Regions from separate parts of the Homo sapiens genome. Here region 2 is linked to region 1. The links are contacts of gene promoters, found by promoter capture Hi-C in blood cells and fetal thymus (Javierre and others, 2016). All regions are on one chromosome and are shown on one strand. The core of a region is centred on a gene start or on the middle of the fragment in contact, and the rest is flanking DNA. Distances in the headings are between cores, read along the strand shown. Region 1 holds the start of RPS12 (ribosomal protein S12). Region 2 overlaps AHI1 (Abelson helper integration site 1).

The links. Contacts are between HindIII fragments. The CHiCAGO score rates a contact against its expected background, and 5 or more counts as called.
Region 2: a contact is called between a fragment that was not itself captured here and the fragment with the promoter of RPS12 in region 1, in 1 of 17 cell types (non-activated CD4 T cells). The highest score is 5.9, in non-activated CD4 T cells.

Annotation. Positions count from the first base shown.
Region 1 is chr6:132,810,551-132,817,352 of GRCh38, forward strand. RPS12 (ribosomal protein S12) reads left to right here and starts at 4,019. Exons shown (of 6, transcript NM_001016.4): 1 at 4,019-4,063; 2 at 4,182-4,232; 3 at 4,422-4,538; 4 at 5,911-6,013; 5 at 6,410-6,511. The coding sequence starts at 4,219. It overlaps SNORD101 (small nucleolar RNA, C/D box 101), which reads left to right and starts at 4,757; the gene lies at 4,757-4,829. LOC107986644 (a long non-coding RNA gene) reads right to left here and starts at 3,738. Exons shown (of 3, transcript XR_001744345.3): 1 at 2,743-3,738. It overlaps SNORD100 (small nucleolar RNA, C/D box 100), which reads left to right and starts at 6,252; the gene lies at 6,252-6,327. It also overlaps SNORA33. RefSeq lists enhancers at 2,485-2,554, 2,984-3,730, 3,645-3,924, 4,355-4,484. The HindIII fragment of the contact is 13,401 bases long and covers 1-6,802 here.
Region 2 is chr6:135,490,255-135,497,056 of GRCh38, forward strand. It overlaps AHI1 (Abelson helper integration site 1), which reads right to left. Exons shown (of 29, transcript NM_001134831.2): 3 at 5,560-5,644; 4 at 1,974-2,037; 5 at 369-493. The coding sequence starts at 1,983. Among named protein-coding and RNA genes, the nearest start is that of AHI1, 4.1 kb to the right of the region's middle. The HindIII fragment of the contact is 5,606 bases long and covers 1,169-6,774 here.

The DNA.
Region 1 (6,802 bases), core at 2,769-5,268:
ACAGGCATAGTGGTAAACACTTTAAATGACTATCTCATTTAATCCTCACAGAAATATTATAGCATTACCACCATTTTACTAGCTCAGAAAGAAAATAACTTGCCAAAGGTCGCAAAGTAAGCTGGAATTTTAACCCTGCACAGTTGGGTCCTCCTGACCACTCCAAGATATAAAATCATTATTATGCCTCAGCCCGGTTTTTGTCTCCAGCTCTGGTCTTCAAAGTAAGTTTTTTTGCAGTTCATCTCAAAGATGCTTTCTTTCATTTGATCATTCTGTATCTCCTCCTTGTCATCTGTTATGAGTTGAACTGTGTTCCCTCAAAATTCACATGTTGAAATCCTAACCCCTTCCACTTCAGAACAAGACCTGATTTGGAACAGGTTTGTTGTAGACGTAATTAGTTAAGATGAGGTTTTACTGGAGCAGGTGAGCCCCTAATCCAATATGGCTGATATTCTTATAAAAAGGAAACATTCAGACACAAAATCAGACATGCACATAGGGACAACATCATGCGAAGATTGGAGTTATGCTAACACAAGTCAAGGAACACCAAGATTGCCAACAAACCTCCAGAAGCTAGGAAAGATGTGTGAAATGGATTCTTCCTCACACCCTCAGAAGGAACCAACACTCCCAACACCTTGACTTCAGACTTCCAGCCTTCAGCATTATAATAGATTTCTGTTGGTTAAGCCACCCAGTTTGTGGTACTTTGCTATGGCAGCCCTAGCAAACTACACATCTACACTTAGATAATTCAGAAATCCAAATTTCTAAATCCAAATGCAAATTTTTCTGCCTAACAGCAATATTCCCTTCCTCCATCTATATAGTTTTTAGCACAGTGGGATAGAACTAGCTGTACTATTGCCAAACCAGAGACGTAGAGAGTCATTCTTGAATTCTCGGCAATCTCCTTTCCACATTCTGGCAATCATTCAAATGACCGAAGGGTTAGGAGCACAGGCTTTGAAGTCCACTGAGCTTAAATACCAGCTTCCACATTTATTAGCTGTGTGATCTTGGGCTACCTAAGCCTTGGCTTCCTGACCTGTTAAAGTGGGCTAATACCATCACTACCAGATAGGGTCTCCATAACAATAAAGGGGAAAAATGCCTGAAAGAATTTAGCGCTTTATCTGGCATATAGAAAAAGTGAAACAAATTGCCTGTTATTATCAGTATTGTTCCTAAAACAAACTTCAGAATACATTTAGTTTTCATATGTGTGTCAGACTCATATTTGTGCACATGTGTTATACTCTGCTGGTATGAGTGACCAACCACTATCCTCTATGTAGTATTGTCTTCCACCTTTACCAGTCTCTGAAATTGAGAGGAGGTAACCTTAAAAATGTGAACTAGGAGGCTGGGCGCAGTGGCTCACACCTGTAATCCCAGCACTTCGGGAGTCCAAGGTGGGCGGATCAACCAAGGTCAGGTGTTCCAGACTAGCCTGGCCAACATGGTGAAACTCCCATTTCTACTAAAAATACAAAACTTAGCTGGGCATAGTGGTGGGCACCTGTAATTCCAGCTACTTGGGACTGAGGCAGGAGAATCGCTTGAACCTGGGAGGTGGAGGTTGCAGTGAGCCAAGATCCCGACACTGCCTTGGCTACAAGAACAAAACTCCATCTCAAAAAAAAAAAAAAAAAAAAAAAGTGAACTAGGAGAATCTATATTAAAGAACCCCTGTATCACCAGTGTGCCCCCTGACTTCATTTTGGGGGTTAGAACTGGTTATATAAGTAGGACTTATATAAGTAGGTTATATAAGTTATATAAGTAGGTTATATAAGTAGGACTTAAAAAAAAATGTAGCTCCCTCTAAGGAGGGAGGTTTGTGTGAAAAGACATTTTAGTGCAGTGAAACATTAAAGCAGAGATCCACGATGTCTGAGTCAATAGAACAGATTAGCAGCTGCTGAAAGATAGAAACCAAGTCTGAGCTGGTTGGTACTGGGAACAACTGCCTTAGCTAACAAGGCACTTGATCATTTTCCCCCCACATAAATATGCTGTTTGGCAGTGAATGTTTTCACTTAGGTTTCCCAAATTCCCTGCTTCTTCCTTAAAAATTTGTTTGGGGAAGGAATCTAATATGCTTAGCATATCAACTGTACTGTCTTTAGATAATGAGAAATGCGCTGAAAGACTATTTGCCACATTCTCTTTCAAAAATACAAACGTGTTAATTATAACCTCCAAAAAAGGCAAGAAGGATTTCATGCCTTTGCCCCTACACTTTCATCCATTTAGAATACCCTCCTCTCCTTCCATGCTCACCGATTTGGAATCTCTTAGTTTTTGTTTTGAGCCTGTTTCGAATGCTGCCAGAAGCCTGAGGTCCTCTTACCTTTTCACACCATCCCCACTCCCTAACCCCCTGCCACTTTGTATCTCCTCTGTGGCCCTGAGGTATTCTGATTTTTGTCTAAAATCTTAATCCCACCACAAACAAACCAGGGCTACAGGAATGAATCATCTTTATAAATTCCTCGTTTTTTTTTTTTTTTTAAATCAAAAGCTCAATAAACATTTGCATGAGTTACTGACAGAGAAGCAGCTTCAACGCTTTAAAAATGAAACTGAAACCAGCGGAAAATCTAAAACTGAACTCTATCAGTAAACTGAACTCTATCAGTTTATTAACATTACAGCAGGTCTCTGTTCTGGTGAACTCCCTGGTGCTCTTACTGCGTTACCCATTTTTGTTTTTTTCGCTGCACTCACCAGTCTAACAGTATCTGCCCACTGGATTCACAGCGCTGGCACGTGCCAAGCGCCTAATAATTGCTCACTGGTTTGGCGGCTGACTACCCAGGAGAGGAAATTAAACACAAAGGCAGTATTGATCATATTCAGTAGTGTTTCGTGCGTTTGGTTTGGAAGTGGGGATTGGGGAATGGCCAATCACTTCCAAATTTAAAATATTGCTTCCTGGAAGAAAATGGACTCCTCAAAGACTGGATATTTCATGTCTGTAGTCCCAGGACCTGGCCCTGCGTCAGGCACATTGTAGGTGTTGAAAATGCACCTGAGGAATTCTGAGTTGCGCGGAACTGTGTATTCCGAGCACAACGCGTCGTTAAAAACCAAACAAAGCAGAACAAACTTCGTTCAGAAGCGACTCCCGCTATACTTAGAAACTAGAATTGACCCCTGGCTGCAGGGTTCCGCTTTACCAACACACCGCAGGGAAAGGGCTTAGAAATAGTGAAAGCGGCCGGGGGCGGCGGGTCACGCCTCTAATCCCAGCATTTTGGGAGGCCGAGGCGGGTGGATCCCCTGAGGTCAGGAGTTCGAGACCAGCCTGGCCAACATGGTGAAATCCCGTCTTTACTAAAAATACAAAAAATTAGCCAGGGTGGTGGCAGGCGCCTGCAATCCCGGCTACTCGGGAGGCTGAGGCAGGAGAATCGCTTGAAACCGGGAGCCGGAGGTCGCAGTAAGCTGAGATCGCGCCATTGCACTCCAGCCTGGAAGAGTGAAAGCATGTAGGCTCTCGTTTCATGAAGACAAAGATGAGGATCACACCCACAACGACACAAACATGGTCTCTCAGGGTGACTTAGAAGCGAAGGAACAAAGTGCGCTGCCTGGGGAGGCTGGGTCTTGTAGAAGCAACAGGAAAGTAGAACGTGGTGTGGAAAGGGTTAAAACTGGCGCTCGGCGGGATACAGGGCTCTAGGTGCCTTAAAGAACACGCGGACACACTTGTTTGGCTTCTGTCGCGCTCCGTAGAATGAGTTCCCTGGGCCTCGGTGGGCCACGCCTCCGCAAAGAAGGACAACGCGAAGCTGCCCGCGTAGTGCCTGTTGCACTCGCCAAGGACCGGCCTGGCAGAGATAGAAAACTCGCAGTACGTTTGCCTCAGAACCGCCTCAATCCGGAAACAGAAACTCCCCAGGCCCGGCACTGCGGGAGCCACCTCTTTCGAGGGTGGGAGTGCACATGCGCACAGGGGACCTGAAAAACCCTTAAATACCGGCATGCGTGCGGATGAGGCCTCTTTCCCTGCCGCCGCCGAGTCGCGCGGAGGCGGAGGCTTGGGGTAAGTTGAGCGAGGCGGCAGGGGGGTGTATTGGTTATAATTTGTGGCTCGTTGCGTTCTTGCTGGGATTCGTGACGAGTATCTGGTTCTTTAACAAGTCAATGCTTTTGTTTTTTAGTGCGTTCAAGATTCAACTTCACCCGTAACCCACCGCCATGGCCGAGGAAGGGTGAGCCCAGGGGCCGGGGTTGGAGTTGGGGTCGGGGTGCGGCTGAGGCGTGGGGCTAGAGCTGGCGGAACAGGACTGGGTCAAACGGGTCGCCGTAAGCGCGTCTGTTGTACACTTAGCTTTTGCTGAGTGCAAGGCCTTATGTGGTGTGAGGATTTTAACTGATGGTTCTGATGTGTCGCGTTTAAGCATTGCTGCTGGAGGTGTAATGGACGTTAATACTGCTTTACAAGAGGTTCTGAAGACTGCCCTCATCCACGATGGCCTAGCACGTGGAATTCGCGAAGCTGCCAAAGCCTTAGACAAGTACGTGTATCAGTCTCAATACTGTGGGTTCTTGCAACCGGAACAAAACTGCCACCCAAGGGAAGAAGGCATGGAGTTCATGGTGTTAGCGCAAAAGTTCTGAATGGCATCCGTCCTACCGGAAACCTAGGAAAAGGTATCAGAACTCAGATCTATAAAGCCCACTTAAAATGTGTGGGTTGCTGTTTGGAATGGGGATAAGCACTCAAAACTACAGTGTTTGAATGATGACTTTAATTGTCGGATACCCCTTCACTCCTTTTATGAGTGAAACATAAGAGTCTGACAAACCTGTAGGTTGTGGAGCTAGTCAGTCTTATACTTATCTGGCAGATAGATGAGATGGAGAGCCACATTACATCTGGTAGTTTGCAAAACAAGCATTAATTTAATGGAATTTCAAACTCAGGTTTCAGAAGCATTTGGTCCTAGATGAATTTAGTAGTATAATAGCTGTGATTTATTTGAATTTGGGATATTTGTTAATGTATTTGAATGGATCGAGTTAATGTGTTTTTTAGGGTGGTGGCATTGACAAATCAACCTACTCTTGAGCTGAATTTAAATGCAGTTTTAAGGTTTTACAGGACAAGTTCGTTTTGGTGTAATCTAGCCAGTTCAATCCGATGGAAACGGCATTATTGTTTAATGTATTTAGTAGGTCCTAGTATGAGTCTTCTGTATTTCTATTTCGGCATTATTGCATGGCATTTCATAACTGTTCCATTAATGCCACAGTCTTTTTTTTTTCTTTTTTCTTTTTTTTTTTTGAGACAAAGAGTCTTGCTCTGTCCCCCAGGCTGGAGTGCAGTGGCGCGATCTCATTGCAACCTCTACCTACCAGGTTCAAGCGATTCTTCTGCCTCCCGAGTAGATGGAATTACAGGCACACGCCACCATGCCCAGCTAGTTTTTGTACTTTCAGTAGAAACGGGGTTTCGCCATGTTGGTCTCTGGCTGGTCTGGTACTCCTGACCTCGGGTCATCTGCCCCCCTCGTCTTCCCAAAGTGCTGGGATTACAGGAGTGAGCCATCGTGCCCGGCCTTTCACATGTTTCTTTAGGTATATGAAGCTGGCTTACAAGAAAGCTATTATGGTTGGGTTTTGGCCAGAAGTTTTAAAAATGACTTACACCAATTCAGTGTGTCAGGGACAGAGGTTTTACTGAAGACCAGTTGTAGGTTAATTGAAGATGTATATGCTCCCTAGCAGGTTCTTCAGACTCAAGCAATTTTGTACGCATTTATGTGTTCAGTGGATTGGCTGCTTATGTTTCGCAAGTGTTAGTGCAAAGATAACCCTCCTAAAATGCAAGAATGATGGATTTGGATCTGAGTTTTAGCTCCATTTTCATTGTAATTTGAATTTCAGGCGCCAAGCCCATCTTTGTGTGCTTGCATCCAACTGTGATGAGCCTATGTATGTCAAGTTGGTGGAGGCCCTTTGTGCTGAACACCAAATCAACCTAATTAAGGTAAGGCTGCTAAGGATTGTGTTGGGACTAATGTTCAGTGATGCTTGTATATGGGGGTAAATTCTGTGAAGTCTCAAGCTGTTCATTTTGTGCAGGTGTAAACATTACGTGCACCTGATACTGTCGGCCATTTTAAAGATGATTGTAGGTAGAAGCATTTTATACCTGCAGAATTGAATCCTAATTTTGACGTTGGTATACAACAAAGATTAGTAGCAGGCTTGTAGGTGATCTTAGTGCTGTACATGATGACAACTGGCTCCCTCTACTGAACTGCCATGAGGAAACTGCCATGTCACCCTTCTGATTACAGCCACCTTTTGGGTTTCATTTAATTTTGGTAGTGTTAATGTCTATTAATGTGATTTTTTTTTTTTTTAACCTTTCTCCCAATAGGTTGATGACAACAAGAAACTAGGAGAATGGGTAGGCCTTTGTAAAATTGACAGAGAGGGGAAACCCCGTAAAGTGGTTGGTTGCAGTTGTGTAGTAGTTAAGGTAAGTCACCGTTTATTCTAGGGATGAAGGTTATGCTGGGTAATCATATAAAACCTTGTATTGAAATAAGTTGAGGATCTTATAAAAGGAAAAAACTGATTCAACAGGTTTAAAGCATTTTCTGCATTTCAGGAAAAAAATAAAAGCTGTAATTTACAAGCCAGCCAATGAATCTGCTTACCTGATTGTGTTTGTGCAGACATACTTTAAAAACTGGCAATAGTAAAGCCATGTTACGAGCCTTAAGGACATTGAAGTCGTTAAGGTCCCTGAGAATGGCTATAACAAATC
Region 2 (6,802 bases), core at 2,722-5,221, 2.7 Mb after region 1:
TAAATAAGCACAAGCTATTCAATATCTGAAGTTAAGATACTACTTCCTAAGTTCTTCACAATTCTGGGTTAAAAATATTTTCTTCAAAAATGTTATCATGGCTAGTTTTGAGTTTCCCCACTATCTCTGGTCATTTTCCCCACTGTGTGTGTGTTCTTCCTGTAGGACAGCACTCAAGAATGAAGTCAATATTCTCACAGTGATGTTGATTCTAATATAAACTTTATTTTTACCACATGTTATTGACCATGACATAGTGTTACTGTTTTTAATTTTCAAAATTCCTTAGAATTTTAACATAAAATGCAGCCATATCTGCATTTTATGCGCATATGTAAATCACTATTACCCAATGATCATTTACTTACTGAGATGTTTTCTTCAGACCTGACAAGTTTTTTCTTCAGTTTTTTCTTTTCACGCATTAGATCACTGTGGGTCTTAAGCAATTCTTCAAAGCGAACTTTGGTTTTTACTTTTGCTTCACTCTCAGCTACAAAAGATACAGCCATGTGATTTTGTAAATGACTCTATCATAACACACAACCTACACTACTAGGATGTTAAGAAATAAGTTCTTGTAAATATCGGCATGAGTTCTCTAGCTACATTAGAAAAACTCACCTATCTTTCCTTCTTAAAATATTTTTTATTTTGACTTTAGTGACACAACATTCACCTGTATCCCTCTGACCTTTTTGGCCACTCACTCTAAAAGTCTCCTTTGCTAAGTTAACTTTTTATTTCTGATAAACAGTAGCATCTACCACTGTTAGTTACGTGTTATGTGGCTTTAGACAAGTTACTCAAGATCTCTAAACTTCATTTTCCTTATCTGTAAAATCACAATTATCTTATGCCAAAGATCATTTTGCATGAAAAATGGCTAAGGTGTGCCTAGCCTGTAATCAGTATTCCACAAATATTAACAGGTTTTTCCTTTAAAACATGAAGAAGATAATGCTTAAGCCCCTGAAAATTTCCCAATACATTTAGGATAAAATAAGTCTTTTATATGCCCTACAGGGCTCCATACCTCCTGATCTATCTCCAGGGCTTCAAATCAAGACAAATATCCCCTTAGATGCCTATGTTCTAGCTATAATACCCTTCCTTTAGCTCCTCCGTCACAGCAAGCTCCTTCCCACATGAAGCTGTTTCTGAGGCAAGCTTCCTCTAATTCCTCACCTGGCTGGTGTTAACCTGTCTGTTTAAATGCTGCCTGTAAATAAAACACCTCCTGACAAACTCATCTAATTTTCCCTTTTCTCACATAGCAGGTTGTTCTCTTCCTTCACAGCACTCAACCCAAATGGAAATTATATAATTATTTTTATATCTATATAAAGAAACATATTTTCTGTTTCCCCCATAACTACATCCCCAGCTACTATTATGAGGTCTGACATAGTGTACATAGTCATTATGTTTTAAATTAATAAATGCTGAATGAATGGGTGCTCTAGAGCAAGTGTCGGCAAACTATGGCCTGCAGGCTAGTCACTTGTTTTTGTAAAGATTTATTGAAATCAGACATACCCATTTGATTAAGAATTGTTATAACTGCTTTCATGCTTTAAAAGAGACAGAGAGACAGAGTTGAGCAGTTATAGCAGAGACTAAGCCTAAAATATTTACTAGCTAGCCCTTTTAGAAAAGATTGCCAATGCTTGTGGTGGAGTAAAACATTCAATTTTGATGATAAAGAATAAAAACTAACCCTATGTTGTAATCATTATTTACCTTGTCCATCTGAGTCCCAAACTACCATCCATTAAATACATACTAACCTTAATCACAATATTAAATAGAAAACTGAATACAAAACCAATAAGTATCTCTAAATGTAGTATATTTGGTCAATGACATCTACTGTATTCATTAATCTGTTCAAGAATCCCTTAAAATAAACCAAACTTAAAAGTAAATGTATAAAATATAAATTTTATACATAAATTTCATAGAAGTCTTACCTGTAGGCATCTCTCAGCTTTATGCAGAGGACTGAGAATGCAAAGCATTGACTCAATCAGGATCCTATCGAAACAAAGGAGATGTATTTGTAATATGGAACTTCCAAATAAAAATTATAAAACGTTCTTCACACAAGATCATGCCATTGTATGTCCACTACTTCATTAAGTTTATACCAATAAAGCTATGTTCCCTTAACCCAATCTTATGCAAATGACTTGGGTACATTTGAATCAGTTTAGGGCTCTAAAATCAAGGGAAACAAACTAGATCATATCTGAATAAAGTATTTATATATTTGAAACAAAAAAAACATTTTGAAGGCAGTGCACATCTAATGTGGTATGTTAATAAACTTTTTAAAGTGTTTTAATACATTAATGAACATTTCAACGCACTTTTAAGAAACCAAACTCCATCTCAGGATTGACTTTCCTAAGAGCATTCAATATTACATTAAAGCATGCTTGTGGGTAGCACACTCACAGTGAATTTAAATACCTCTGTGTCTGCCACTGAAAATTCTGCTACAATAGAGAAGGATAGTACAAATATTTGCACCATCTTTCTTTAATAAAACCTGGATGTGTATTACTGTGTCAGAACTACTCAAAACCATGGTTCAACTCAGTATGTATATTACTAAATTGCCCATTTTATTAAAAAAATCGGTGTATGTCTAAAATGAACATATTCTCACATTAGAACATTTAGAATGTAATATGCATGTTTTTGAGACTAAAACTGAAGAGTGTTAAAAAAAAAGCTGGTTCAGGAATTATTGATTTGTTTGTTTTTGAGATGGAGTCTCCCTTTGTCGAGTGCAGTGGTGTGATCTCGGCTCACTGCAACCTCCGCCTCCCAGGTTCAAGCGATTCTCCTGCCTCAGCCTCCCGAGTGGCTGGGATTACAGGTGTGCGCCACCACACCCAGCTAATTTTTGTATTTTTAGTAGAGACAGGGTTTCATCATGTTGGCCAGGCTGGTCTTGAACTCCTGACCTCATATGATCTGCCCGACTCAGCCTCCCAAAGTGTTGGGATTACAGGCGTGAGCCACCACACTGGGCCCAAGGCATTATTGGTTAATGCTCCAATTCCCTGGACATCCACATTCATGTTCCTCTTGCAGAAATGTCTAAGAAATTCTAAAAAGAAAGGAATGATTATGTAAACATACCTAACTATGTCAGTTAACTTAGGCAACAACTACGTGGCACCCAGTCAAAACAGACATCACTAAATCCATGGAGTAAAAATTCCTATACTTTAGTGATAGGAGCCTGTATTTACTCCTTCTAGCAGTTATAAATTTAATAAATCTAGTCTTCTACTTTCTAGTCTATATTAAATTAGAAAAGAGAAGCTGCAAAGGCAAGTGCAATGACAGCATGAGTAATTGAAACCTGAGAGCACGGAAGTAGAAAAATCATAAAACAAATAAAAATTTAATATTTATACTACTCGATGGTCATCTAATAGGCCAGGAAAAAGCTGACCTATATTATGACTATGATTCATCAAAAAAAAGCCTGCTGGGCGCCGTGGCTCATGTCTGTAATCCCAATACTTGGGAAGGATAAGGCGGGTGGATCACTTGAGGTCAGGAGTTTGTGTCCTGTCTGGCCAACATGGTAAAACCCCATCTCTACCAAAAATACAAAACTTAGTCAGGCGTGGTGGTGGGTGCCTGTAATCCCAGCTACTGGGGAGGCTGAGGCAGGAAAATCGCTTGAACCTGAAATGTGGAGGTTGCAGGGAGCCAAGACTGCACCAGTGCGCTCCAGGTGATGGAGTGAGGTAATATTTTAGAAAGATTAAATAACTAATGAAGAGGCAGGAGAAAGAATCGGAGATAATTCCCATGTTTCTAGAACTAGAATAAGTAGATTAGTAGTATCATTACACTGTAATATAATGCAGTACAGGGCAGTAGTTTAAAATCCATGTCCTAGAATTAGTTTCCATAGTCACTTGCGTGACTTTTGTTTCCTCATCTATAAAAACACCCTACCAGTGCCGACTCAAAGGGTTGTTGTAAGGGTTAAATGATTTAGAACAGTACCGTAGACAGAAGAAGCAACAATAAATGTTAGCTATAACTGTAACAGGTTGTTAGGGTGCAGTCACTGAGCTTAGTATGGGTCATGTTGAGTTGGGTATCTGAAGGGCACTGAGCAGCTACAAGCATCAGCTCCATTTTCAGATCCTTGGATCCAAATACCAGTTCTATCTGCCAGCAGATTCACCTCTATGGATATCAACTTCCTAATCTTTCACAATAATAAGAGTAAATCACTCACAGTGTTTTTATAAAGATTAAATGAGAATATGCAAATAAAATACTAGGCACAATGCCTAGCACATGGCAAGCCCTTCAAAAACAACAACTGTTATTACTGTCACGTGTGTGTGTGTTTACGTATATAATCATATTATGTTTGTTAGGCAATCTACTAATCCAGCAGGGAGACAATAGGCTGAAGATTTGGGAGTTATTTATAAATATGATAGTTCCAAGAAAATAAAAAGCCAATGAGAATCCTGTGAGCCTACAATATAAAGTAAAATCAGGGAGATAGGTGAAAAACTGGGAGATAGAAGCATTACAGAAGCAAACCCAAGTTTTAAAGGAGATGTTGCCTATATACTGTGTGGCATCAAAAGGGGCTGGAGGTTTTGAAGAAAGTCCACTGAATCTGCAAGTAGGAAGTCACGTGTGTCAAAGCTGTTTATAGAGGGGCAGAAACTTAGCAGGCTGGGGCTAAGGAATGAATGGAAGGTGACACCTGTAGAAGGGACATGTAGACAATTCTTTACAGAATTCTTCCAACTGTCTTCCCATCACCCCCAAAGGCAGTGACATGAGACAGTAACTCTGAGGGACAAAAACACTGTGGAAGGATTATGCTTTTTGTTTTAAGATTGTTTCCACGCCGCTATCACCTTTCCCTTAAAAAAAAAATCATCATCTACACAGCAACTAGTGTAATTTTCTAAAATTCAAATGTGATGGTGTCGTTTCTTCGCTTAAAATTCTTCACTAGCTCCCAATCGCACATTGAAAAAAATATCAAGTCCTTACCAGTGAGGTCCAAGGCCATTTATGAAATGTCCCCTTCACACATCCACTGTGTTCCAGACATGTGAAACTACCTGCAGGCCTTCACGTGTGCCAAGTTCTCTCTTGCTTTTGTATCATTACACACATATCCCCTCCCCTGAAAAATGTGCTTCCTCCTTTGTCTCTCTAACAAACTCCTCACTATCCTTTAAAGGCAAATGATATCTTCTCTAGAGAGCATTCTCACCTTGAAGGGCATTTAAGAACTTCTCTTCTGTGCTTCCAGGGTGCCTTAATCTTTGTAGCTCCCTCTACCTCAACCTTGAATTTTCACCCTGGTAAAATGTTCTGTAACTCCCACCAAACTGCTAGCTTTGGAGGACCAAGCCAATGCTCTCTTATAGTTATGTATCTGCCACTATGAAAGAAAAGAGAGGAGAAGAAGAGAGAAGCGAAGTGAAGAGAAGCAAAAGCAAAGCGAGTAAAAAAGACTCAGGCTTGAGCTCTAGTGTCACCACTTACTGATGTGTGGCCTTGGGCAAGCTACTTAATTTCTAATCCTTGGTTTTTCCTTGTCTGGGAATTTAAAATGGCACCTATTTTAGTACTGTAAGGAGAAGAGAAAATACCAAAAAGCAAAGTAATCAGTACATTGCAATAAAATTACTTTATGTCCATTATTATTGTATTAAAAATAAGTAAATAATTACAAATAAAATATATAAATCATATACTTATTTACTATTAACAGCTTAATACACAACTAAACTAATAAATACTAATATTATGTAATGATAACACAGCAAATACAGTACAGAAATCATCTCTAATTTTTTTTTTTTGGAGACAGAGTCTCGCTCTGTTGCCCAGGTTGGAGTGCAGTGGCACAATCTCAGCTCACTGCTGCCTCCGCCTCCTGGGTTCAAGCAATTCACCTGCCTCAGCCTCCCTGGTAGCTGGGACTACAGGTGTGGGCCATCACACCCAGCTAATTTTTGTATTTTTAGTAGAGATGGGGTTTCACCAACATTGGCCAGGCTGATACTGAACTCCTGACCTCAAGTGATCCACCCACTTTAGCCTCCCAAAGTGCTAGGATTACAGGCGTGACCCACTGCGCTCAGCCATCTCTAAATCTTAATATGTACTACAGCAAACATGATAGAATTAACGGCTAATATTTGATTAGTAACCTCTGCAAAAAATCAGATAGGACTTTAAAAGACACCTCTGATTCTTATATATTCCATTATTTTACAACTTCTCCCTCACAAACCCTTTCACAGGAGCGTCTAAGAGATATTACACAGGAAAATTAAATGGATTACATTTCATCTCATTTTATTTTACAGACAACCTGATTATCAGCCAATATGTGGCTCAATATCATTGGGAGAAAAAACTGAGAGGCTTGATAATTCGCTCCTTAACCAAATGTTATCGCAAGGGAAAAAAAGACAAACAAAAATCCTGTATACAAAATTCAATGAATAAATCAACAAGATTCTTCATAAGTAAACAAGATTCTAACTTCATAAATATTATTCCTCATAAACAAGATTCTAGGTATGGTTTAAAAACACTTTTGGTATTTGAATTTCTTTCAAGCATTCTTTAAAAAATTTCCCAGAGTACTCATAAGAAGCAATCTTCCTCCTAACGCCCAAGCAGTAACAGCAACTGTTAATGCAACAGGTGAAAAAATCGTTGGCATCTCTTTCTCAAAAGAAAGGGGAAAGCTTTATTTTCACAATAGATGTTTTTA